3 separate regions of the Homo sapiens genome follow, and regions 1 and 2 are each linked to region 3. The links are contacts of gene promoters, found by promoter capture Hi-C in human tissues and cell types (Jung and others, 2019). All regions are on one chromosome and are shown on one strand. Each heading gives the region's core, a stretch centred on a gene start or on the middle of the fragment in contact. The rest is flanking DNA. Distances are from core to core; before and after follow the strand shown.

What was found. The method cuts DNA at HindIII sites, captures the fragments that hold promoters and counts their contacts. A contact is called where the count stands out against the background at its distance.
Region 1: a fragment that was not itself captured here is called in contact with the fragment with the promoter of ADAM2 in region 3 in 1 of the 25 tissues and cell types used here (dorsolateral prefrontal cortex).
Region 2: a fragment that was not itself captured here is called in contact with the fragment with the promoter of ADAM2 in region 3 in 1 of the 25 tissues and cell types used here (H1 embryonic stem cells).

The regions. Positions count from the first base shown.
Region 1 is chr8:39,373,093-39,377,029 of GRCh38, reverse strand. It overlaps the pseudogene ADAM5. Among named protein-coding and RNA genes, the nearest start is that of ADAM18, 210 kb to the left of the region's middle. The HindIII fragment of the contact is 3,018 bases long and covers 502-3,519 here.
Region 2 is chr8:39,551,985-39,556,000 of GRCh38, reverse strand. No RefSeq gene overlaps it. Among named protein-coding and RNA genes, the nearest start is that of ADAM18, 31 kb to the left of the region's middle. The HindIII fragment of the contact is 3,357 bases long and covers 1-3,293 here.
Region 3 is chr8:39,836,609-39,840,452 of GRCh38, reverse strand. It overlaps ADAM2 (ADAM metallopeptidase domain 2), which reads left to right and starts at 2,226. Exons shown (of 21, transcript NM_001464.5): 1 at 2,226-2,322; 2 at 3,241-3,317. The coding sequence starts at 2,268. The HindIII fragment of the contact is 9,732 bases long and covers 1-3,844 here.

The sequences.
Region 1 (3,937 bases), core at 761-3,260, 460 kb after region 3:
GTAGAGACAGGGCTTCACCATGTTGGCCAGGCTGGTCTTGAACTCCTGACCTTGTGATCCGCCCGCCTTGGCCTCCCAAAGTGCTGGGATTACAGGCATGAGCTACTGGCCCCAGCTCTTTGTTTGTATGTTAACAATGTTTTAAAGTCTATAGCTATTGTCTTGCCATATGGTACAAATAATGATTCTGTTAGAAAAGCAGGACAAAATTATGAAAATCATCAAAACCCCCATCTCACCTTCTCCTTAAATTCCTGGCAGTCACATTGCTGTAGACAATATTTAGAGATCTATGACCTGGTTAGAGAAGACCTCAAGGGAGGGCTAAGAATGAAAAATTTCACTCTCTCGGAGAACATGCACTGCATACGTTCAGGAATTTGTATCTTCCAATCAAGCAAATGACATTTATAGGAAATTATCAAAATGGACTAGATTGCTAATGAACTGAAGCCCTCACTTTTCAGCAAGCGCTTAGAAACCCAACTAATCAGTGATTAGCCCTGCTTTCCTCTGATTAAGAAACCTTGTTTCCTTTAAACTAAACCCCCACCACAAATTCTATATAATATTTTGAAAAACTGCATTTTCACTTGAGGTTTATTTTCTGTTCCTACAGAAATTCCATATAAATTCAGAGAGGTTTTTTGTTGTTGTATTTCACAATCATGAAAATTTTGTTTTTGCGCCAGGCGCAGTGGCTCGTGCCTGTAATCCCAGCACTTTGGGAGCACGATGTGGGCAGATCACTTGAAGCTAGGAGTTTGAGACAAGCCTGGCCAACATGGTGAAACACTGTCTCTACTAAAAACACAAACTTAACCACCCATGACAGTGTGCTCCTGTTATCCCAGCTACTCCGTAGGCTGCGGCAGGAGGATCGCTTGAACCCAGGAGGATCGCTTGGACCAAAGAGGCGGAGGTTACAGTGAGCTGAGATCAGGCCACTGCACTCCAGCCTGGGCGACAGAGAGAAACTCCGTCTCAAAAAAGAAAAAGAAAAGATAATTTTGTTTTTTCTTTAACACTAATATACATTATGCAAGAATTCAGTCATTAACACATACATTTACATTTTTGTTCCATAAAATTCAATAACAGAGTTTGGAATAATCAGAATTTAGGGACTAAGAAGAAAATTATGATTATTACCTCTTCCAATTAAATCATCACATTGTTTGTCAAAAGTCCGACACTTTCCTTGAAAACAGAAGGCTCCACCTGAATCACAATATTCTCCATCACGTACATAAGTGTCAGGCAAACAGTATGGAAGGTCCCCATTGCAATATTCAGTGAAATCGCATTCTTTACCAACTGATTTCCTACAAATCATATTAGCCGGTTTGAACTAGGAGGAAAGAGAAACATAAAACTTTAAATATCAATGCTATTTAAGTTTTATTTCTGTGTAGGCTCTATATGCTGGTCCATTTTTTTCCCTAAGTTTCTAATAGCAATTAGAAAATTAAATCTTCTTGTTAACTATTTAAGCATCACACAGGATTCTTAAAATATCTCCTTTTAAAGCCTGCAACATTTTTAAAATGTTTATGATGAGGATTTATCATTTTATAAATGGCTGCTGATTTCTTCTTTAAGATTAATATGGAGAAACCAGAAACTGCCCAACTGAGCAGAGCCAAAATGGATTACAAGTAATTTTTATATCCCTAGCTCCACTTTGCCTTTCTTTCCTTTATGGATGTCTGCTTATCTTTGAGTTTCTAGCTTCTCTTATAAGCATTACCCATTTTTTTATGCACAAGAAATTTAATCACACAAATGATGAAGATATTCTAAGAACACGCAGGAGAAAGTTTATTTCATATTTATTTCAAATTTCATGTTGCAAAAAACTTAAAAATAACTTCCATAATTACATATTTCTGATCTGCTTCTGGGCTTCCCTTTCTACAAATTTACTTTTGCTAAGAAGCATCTAATCATCATCTCTGAAAACTCTTCTTTCTTCAACACATGCCCCAGTCTCTTATGGCTATTGTCATTATCCTATGCAAAGTAAATAAAAATTTTCCTAGCTTTCAAAGGTCCTGAAGGCCCAGCTTATATAACATTTATCTTCTCAAAATTGTTTTTCGCCAACTTTTTCTTAAGTTTTCAAGTATTTGCTATCTGTAAAAAGTCTCACACAAATTTTCCAGGTGATGCATGAGAAGACAAATACAATATCTACTGTCACTCAAGCTTACAGAGTCAACATTTAATTCAAAACTAATTGTTCAAAGTATTTATAGAGGAAAATTTGCATATGTATAATGAGAAAGTATCAACACTTGTTTCTTCAGAATTTGTTTCCTTTTACGAACTGGTATAAAAGGCAATCGTACTTTGATTCTAACTTTTTTTTTTTTTTTTTTTTGAGACGGAGTCTTGCTCTGTCACCCAGGCTGGAGTGCAGTGGCGAGATCTCGGCTCACTGCAAGCTCCGCCTCCCGGGTTCATGCCATTCTCCTGCCTCAGCCTCCCGAGTAGCTGGGACTACAGGCGCACACCACCACGCCTGGCTAATTTTTGTTGTATTTTTTAGTAGAGACAGGGTTTCACCGTGTTAGCCAGGATGGTCTCGATCTCCTGACCTCATGATCCGCGCGCCTCGGCCTCCCAAAGTACTGGGATTACAGGCATGAGCCACTGCCCCCAGCCTACTCTAACATTTTTAAAAATACCTGTGAACACTCACTTCCTCAAGTACTCTTTGAATCAAGCTTTATCATCCTACTGGCTCCTTCATTGAGAGGCAGAGAAAATTCTTTTAAAAATATTTTTACTTTGTAGGTATATGAGAGTCGTGACTTTAGAATATTGAAAAACTATATTTTCACAATCATTGAGGTAAAATTAAATAAATTGAATTGTGTTGCTCAAGAAGTGCACCTCATGGGCTCATCTTTTTTTGTTCTGGATCTCACCTTTATTATTATTAATTATTTCAATCGTTTGGGAGAACAGGTGGGGTTTGGCTACATGGATAAGTTCGTTAGGTGTGATTTCTGAAATTTTGTTGCACCCATGACCCAAGCAGTGTACACTGCACCCAGTGTGTAGTCTTTTATCCCTCACCCCACTCCCATACCTTCCCACGCATCTCCAGAGTCCATTATATTACTCTTATGCCTTTGTATCCTTATAGCTTAGCTCCCACTTATAAGTGAGAACATACGATGTTTGGTTTTCCATTCTTGAGTTACTTCACTTAGAATAACAGTCTCCAATTCCATCCAGGTTACTGCAAATGCCATTATTTCATTCCTTTTTATGGCAGAGTAGTATTCCATTGTATATGTGTATGTGTATATATGTATGTGTATATATATATGTGTATATATACGTGTATATATGTGTGTGTATATATGTGTATATATAGTGTATATATATGAGTATATGTATATATGTGTATATGTGTATATGTATATATGTGTATATATTTACACATATATACACTATATATGTATATGTGTGTATATATACACATATATACACTATATATACACATATACACATATATATGCATATATATACATACATATATACATATATACATACATATATACACATACATGTATACACATATATACACATACATATATATACACATATATATACATATATACACACAAATATATATACACATACATATATACCACAAATTCTTTATCCACTTGTTGGTTCTTTGTCCACTTGTTGGTTGATAGTCATTTAGACTGGTTCCATATTTTTGCAATTGTGAATTCTGCTGCTATAAACATGCATAAGCAAGCGTCTTTTTCATATAATGATTTATTTTCCTCTGGGTAGATGCCCCCAGTGGGATTGCTGGATCAAATGGCGGATCTACTTTTGGTTATTTAAGGAATGTCCATAGTCCTTTCCACAGTGGTTGTACTAGTTCACATTCCCACCAGCAGTGTAAAAG
Region 2 (4,016 bases), core at 366-2,865, 280 kb after region 3:
TGTTATGTGTTAGCAAAGCAGCTGTTTCAACAAAGCAGCTGTTTCTTTTTTATCTTTGAACTTAGGGTTGTGTCTATTAGTAAGCAGGAAATGTATTTTTAAAAATTGCATCAAATCCTTAAATTTAATACAAGCTTTATTGAAACTGGCCTGTTAGAGAGTAGACAGAAAAGAAAAACAGAAAGTTTTTTGTACTTACGATCAATAGTAAAAGAGAGCAATAAAAACTTCCTGTCTTACACTTTGGGTTACTCAGAAGCCTCCTTGAATTTTTCTCCTGGTTAGGCTGTAAATTTTCCAAACTTTGATGCTCTGCTTTTCTTTTAAATAAGGTTCCAGCTTTAAGTCATTTCTTTTCTCTTGTGTATGAACATAGGCTGTTAGAAGCAGCCAAGCCAAACTTAAATACTGCTTCCTAGAAATTTCTTCTACCAGTTATTATAAATCATCACTCTTTAATTCAACTTCCACAGATCCCTAAGACATGAACAGAATGCAGCCAAGCTCTTTGATGAGGCATAAAATTTGTGACAATTGATCCAGGTCCCAATAAGTTCCTCATTTCCATCTGAGACCACCTCAGTCTAGACTTCATTGTCCATATCACTATCAGCATTTTGGCCACAAGCATTTAATCAGTCTCTAAATGAAGTTCCAAACTTTCCCTCATATTCCTGTATTTTTCATAGTCCTCCAAACTCTTCCAGCCTTTACTTGTTACTCAATTCCAAAGTCACGTCAACATTTTCAGGTATCTTTACAGCAATACCTCACCTCTGGTACCAATTTTCTGTATTTGGCCATTCTTGAATTGCTATAAAAAAATACCTGAGACTGGGTAATTCATAAGAAAATAGGTTTAATAGGCTCATGGTTCTGCAGGCGGTACAGGAAGCATAGCAGTATCTGTTTCTGGGGAGACTTCAGGATGCTTCCAATTATGGCGGAAGGCAAAGGGGAAGCAGTCACATCACATGGTGAAAGCAGGAGCAAGAGAGCAAGGGGTGGGGTGCTACATACTTTTAAATGACCAGATCTCATGAGAACACACTCCCTAGTGTTAGAACTGTACCAAGGAGAATAGTGCTAAACCATTCATGAAAAATATGCCCCCATGATCCAATCACCTCCCACAAGGCTCCACCTCCAACATTGGGGGATTACATTTCAATATGAGATTTGGGTTGGGACACAGGTGCAAACTATGTCAATATTTTAATATATAGATCTTACATAAATTTGAATTTTCCTACATAGGCACAGCAGACCCTTCAAAATCAGGAAATAATGGTGTGGTACAAACATTTATATACATCACAATATTGGCATTTTGTAGCAAAATGATGCAGTTCAGAATCAAACATCACGTTTAGTTCTCACATCTCCTTACCTTACATTCCTAAGATTTTTTTTTTGATTGATTTTCATGATTTTGATAAGTTTGATGATTACAGGCCAATTTTGGGGTAGAAATTACCTTAATTTAGGTTTATAAAATATATTTTTATGATTAGACTGAGGTTATGCATCTTTACAATATTATTATAGCAGTGTTGCTTTGTTTGTTTCATTGCAATACAAAAAGTTGTGAACAATCTCGATTTGTTATATTACTGAGAATAGTCACTTTGATCAGTTGATTAAGGTGTCCATGCCAGTATTCCCTGGAAAATTACTTTTTTTTCCTTTGTCTGTTGATAATTCCTTGGAGAGAAACCCTTTGGTTTTATGTAAACAATCCATTTCTAATTATATTTTAAATACATTAATGTATTTATATCAGTTTGGAATCATGTTTTCATATTTTACTCAATGGGTTGTAATCCATTAGTACCATTATAATCTTTGACATTCGAATTGTCCCAGTTTTGGCCTGTTGGAGCCCTTTCTAACTGGCCTTTGTGTTATCTCCATGATACTTTGTGAATCTCCTTATTTTTTATAGAAGGCATTCCAGGCTAATTTTTAATTTTCTCTGCCTGAGCCTTGGAACCAGTCATTTCTTCAAGATATCCATATTTCTTTTAGTGGAAAATAATATTGAAAAAGTGTAATCTGGATGAGACATTTGCTCATTTTTACCAGATTTTTTCTGGACAGAGATCGAGACCATATCAGCATCTTAAGTAATGTTAATAGCTCTTTTCCTCTCACCCACAATTTGCAAAATCTCCACCAATTTCAGCTCCTATAATGCTATGAACTTACAAATAAACATTCTTCATGGGAACAAAAAATTTTTGAGGTTTTTATTAGTCCAAAATTTCTGAGTTCCCAGTCTGTATGATTTTTAGGTCCCCATTGTATTCCATTTCCTCCCACACCACTACTTATTAAATGCAGGTTTTATTTTGGCAGTTGATTGGCCCCACCTGCTGGTATTCTGTGTGTTCTGGTTTTGGGGAACTTGCATATGCTTTTGTGTGTCTGTGTGTCTCTATGTGTTTGTATGTATATACATATGTTTTTATAGTTTTTCTTTCTATTTTATAAGATAATTTGGAGACACTAAACTACATCCTGATGTTTTTACCACTTGGCTCCCAACCCTTCCTTTATTCTTTTTTTTTTTTTTTTTTTTTTTTTTGAGATGGAGTCTTGCTCTGATGCCCAGGCTGGAGTGCAGTGGTGCAATCTCGGCTCATTGCAAGCTTTGCCTCCTGGGTTCACGCCATTCTCCTGCCTCAGCCTCCCGAGTAGCTGGGACCACAAGTGCCCACCACCATGCCTGGTTAATTTTTTGTATTTTTAGTAGAGATGGGGTTTCACCACGTTAGCCAGGATGGTCTCGATCTCCTGAACTTGTGATCTGATTCCACTCTAGGTAAAATTACACCTTAACATGGTTGTTGTCCTAATATTTTCTTTCTTTCTGATCCTTCATATTACTGACTTTCCCTCAATTTTTAGCCTATAAATATAAGCAATTTTCAAAGCTTTCTCTAAGATACCTCTTTTAACTTGATAACTTCTTTCTAAATGATCTGTCTGTGGTTTTAATTGTTACTCATATACTGATGGCTTGTACATTTTATATCGCTTGTTCTCTGAGATCTGGAACTATATAACTCATTCTGTGTTAACAGCTCCAGTGAATTACTTAAAATACCCCAGATACAATGTATATAAAACGTCGTCAAGATTTACCCTCACTATTCTCGTTTCCTAAATTAATGACCTCTTAAAATATTTGTTAATAAGTTATAATATATGAAAACCTATGGATAATTCTTGGCATCTCCCTTTATCTAAATCATTATAAACCACTATAGATTATTATGAAAATTACCACCTCCCAAATATTATTATTGTTTTTCCCTTTGATTTATTTTACATTGATTTTATGAGATATTTTTTATTACCCATACTGAATAAATTGATTAAAATGTATGTGTGTGTGTTTATGTGTGTGTGTGTGCATGTGTGTAAAATGAAATTCAAATCCCTGTATCATGATTGCATGATCAGGTGCTTTCCTTCATTTCTTATATTAACCCCTGGGTTTCTTCCCCTGACTCAAAGTTATTCGGCCTGATGGTATTTCACTTTATTTTCACTATGTCTAGAATATTCCTATTTACAGTGCCAGCCTTTCTACTTTTTAAAAACATTTTACCTACTGCAATCTCCTTATTCCAGGTCTATTAAGCTTTTCAAGCTTCTTGCTAGCCAATAACCGTTTTACTTGCTGGGCTTGAAAAATTTTTCAACAGCTCCAATAAACTTTAGTAAACCCAAGTATACAATCATCAACATCTGCTCTCTATATATACTATAATGTTGAATGCAATACTATTAAACATGGTTTCTACAAAATCCCATAGTCAAACTTGTAAAGTCTTAAATAAGCACATATATATTTAATAACATTCTTACTCAAGTTACAATGCAAAAATCACACATCAAGGAATAATGCCTACATTTTCCAAGAGAAGACATATATTTGATTAAAAAAAAAAACCTTACATTGCCTTAGAATTCATTACGCATGTAGCTCCTGGACAGTTACAGTTGTA
Region 3 (3,844 bases), core at 977-3,476:
ATATTTGAAAATGTATTATCCAACTTGATCTAGTTGACATTTAAAGAATAATATAATCCACAGCTAAATAGTCTGCATTCTTTTAAAGTTTGCATTCTTTTAAAGTTCGAAACATTCAATGTAATGAACCATATAATGGGCAATGAATTTTCTCTTAGTGAATTGCAATGACTTGAAATTATTCAAAATACAATCTATGATCACAATGGAATTGAGTTAGACATCAATAAAAAAGTAATTAATACATGCTTAAATATGTGGCATTTAAATAACACCAATAAACATGTGGGGCAAAAAGAAATCATGATGAAAATTAGAAAACATTTAGAATTGAATATTAATGAAAGTAAAGTATATCAAAATAAAGTATAAGAATACAATGGTGAAGTTAAAGCAATGAATAGATAGAAATTTGGAAATACATGGAAATTTGTAGTTTAAAGGCATAGGTTAAAAGAAGAAATGTTTAAAATAAATAATATAAACTTCCAATCTTAGAAGCTAGAAAAGGAACATTATGCCCAAAGTAGAAAAAAGGAAAAGAACCCAAGAACAAAATCAACAAAGCAGAAAACATACAACAGAAAAAAATAAAGAAATCCAAAACCGAGTTCCTGTAAAACTTAATAAAAATTATACATTCCAAGACCTATTTACCCAGTATAAAGAGAAACATCACAAATTATCAACATTGAGAATGGAAGAAGAGATATGTCTGCAGGTGCTATAGACCTTAAAAAGTTGCTAGAGGAGAGGAAGTCATTATGAACAACTTTTGTCAATAATTTAACAACCCCAAAGAAATGGACAAATTCCTTCAGAAACATAACTTTCTCAAACCAACACGAAAAGAAAAAAATATGAATATTTTAAAGAAATTAGATAAAAAAGTAAATAAATCTTCTCATGAAGAAAACTCCAGGTCATAATCACTCCATTTCTAAATGCTAAGAAACATTAAAAGAATAAATATTCACAGCATTACACTATTTCAAAGATTAAACGAAGAGATAACATTTCTTAATTTCTTTTATGAGGGCAGCATGTCTTGATATAAAAGTTGGTAAGTTCATTACAATGAAGGAACATTACAGACAACACAACAACACAACAAGGCATTGATGTGTACGAAGTGGAATTTTCATATACTTCTGGTGAGAGTATAAATTAGTACAGTCTTGGAAAACTTGTCGGAAGTATCTACCAACACATACCCTGTGATCCGACAACTTCACTCTAGAAATATACACAGTAGAAATCCTTACTTATTACACCAAAAGGCATGTAGAAGAATGTTTATAGCTAAATATTATTTTTAATAGCTGGAACAATAAACAAACAAAATATTCATTAACAGTAAAATGGAAACACAAGTGGTGTTATATTTAATGAATTTGTAATATACACCAATGAGGATAAAACAGAACTATTGCTTTGTATGAACCTTACAATCATCCTATTAAAAGAACCCAGACATGAAAGAGTAGATGGTGATTGCTTCTACTTGCGAAAAGTTCAAAAACAGACAAAACGAATCTTTGGTTGTTTAGAAGTCATGGTTGTGAGGTTGGAATCTGGGGATTTGGGTGGTTCTTTTTCATTTCTTCATCGTGGTACTAGTTACGCTGTTTTTTTTTTCCACTTGAATATTAATTGACCTGTGAACTTATGATTTATTATATACTTTTTTTCGTTTTTTGTTTCGTTCTTTTTTTTTTTTTTTTTTTTTTTTTTGACGGAATTTCGCTCTCTCACCCAGGCTGGAGTGCAGTGGTAAGGTCTTTCTGCTCACTGCAACCTCTGCCTCCTAGGTTCAAGCGATTCTCCTGCCTCAGCTTCCCGAGTAGCTGGGATTTCAGGCACCCGCCACCATGCCTGGCTAATTTTTTTTTGTATTTTTAGTACAGACGGGGTTTCACCATGTTGCGGAAACTGGTCTCGAACTCCTGATACGTGTTTATATATATTCAATTGAAATTTTACTTAAGAAGTGTTTATAAATCTTCCTGTTCCTCAGCTGTTGGAAGTGATTTTGTTGTTGCTGTTGCCTTAATTAGGCATCACGTCCAGTGGAGTGCTTGTCCTGCAAGAGACAGGGCTCAGGAGCTCGCACGTTCCACAGCGCACCACACCCAACCTCAGCCCACCTGGGCTCTCCCAGCCGCCTACCTCTTCCAGGCTGCGTGGCCGGGGCGTCATCTCGCGCTTCCAACTGCCCTGTAACCACCAACTGCCATTATTCCGGCTGGGACCCAGGACTTCAAGCCATGTGGCGCGTCTTGTTTCTGCTCAGCGGGCTCGGCGGGCTGCGGATGGACAGTAGTAAGCAGAAAAACCCCTCCTCTGGCCTTTTGGGACCCTCAGCGCTACTCTCCCTTTGCCTCCAAGTTACATTGACATCCCTGGGAGGATGCTTTCCTGAGGGGTTTCCAACTCAGCAATTCCAAGCTCATCCCCGACATTGCCGCCTTCCCCACCCAAAATCCACGTAGAATAAGGGCTTTCCCACACGTCCTGGAAACCTAGGAAAGATAAGATAGGAGGTCCTAGGCCTTAAGAGGTTGCTTCAAAATTGTAGTTTCAGATCCTGCTTTGCATTTTTCACGACAGTGAAAGTTGAGACCCAACTTCTGTACTCTCTAGTTGAAGAGTCCAGAGTGAGTTAATTTGTCCTGAGGGGCTTGAACCTATTGACCCAAGGTTACCAGATCCTACCTACAGGGCAATACTCCTAAAGCAATACACCTACTTCTTTTTTAAAAAAATATGGCCGGGCACGGTGGCTCATGCCTGTAATCCCAGCACTTTGGGAGGCTGAGGAAGGCGTATCACGAGGTCAGGAGATCGAGACCATCCCGGCCAACATGGTGAAATCCCCCTCTACTAAAAATATAGAAAATTAGCTGGGGGTGGTAGTGCGTGCCTGTAGTCCCAGCTGCTGGGGAGGCTGAGGCAGGGGAATCGCTTGAAACCGGGAGGCGGAGGTTGCAGTGAGCAGAGATCTCACCACTGCACTCCAGCCTGGGCCTGGGCGACAGAGTGAGACTTCGTCTCAAAAACAAAAAAAAAAACAGAAAAACAGAAAAAAAAACCTCCTTGTATTTTTAGAAAGAAATGGGAAGATAATAAAAATGAGAAGCAGCGTATAGAATAGAGATTAGAGATTTAGATGAAAAACTCATAAAACACGCTCTGAAATGATGGGCATTGTTCTAATAAAACATTTTGCACATTTTGCAGATTTTGATAGTTTACCTGTGCAAATTACAGTTCCGGAGAAAATACGGTCAATAATAAAGGAAGGAATTGAATCGCAGGTAATGAATCACTAACAGTATTTACAAATTTAAAATGATGTAAAGATTTTGTTTCTAAGAAGTTAATCTGCCATTTTTCATTCATGCACACCTGTTGAATTTTATATTTATACCAAATTTTCCCTGAATGGAAAAGCCCTTTTGAAAATGAACCAGGATCAACAATGTTTCACAGAAATAATGGTGCAGTGATGCTGGTTATCAAAGCCCCAAGTCCATTTTCTGAATCTGTCTTCCTCTTGGATGTCTTTGAATAATCATTGGCTTGATTGTTCTAGAGATTCTGTTCTCACTCACCGTTCAGGCTGTATTTGGAGGAATTTTTTGTCATTGTTGCTAAGTAAGCCTTGGCTTGCTTATATGGGATGATGATCACTTGAATTAATGATGTGTTATATTAATGATTTTTTTAGCCCTGATTGCGAATATGTTAATGATTAGAACTCTTTCTTTCATGCTATTTTAGATTATTTTAGTTCAGAATTATTACTCTCTTTTTAAAATTTGAATTTAAAATCTTCTTATCA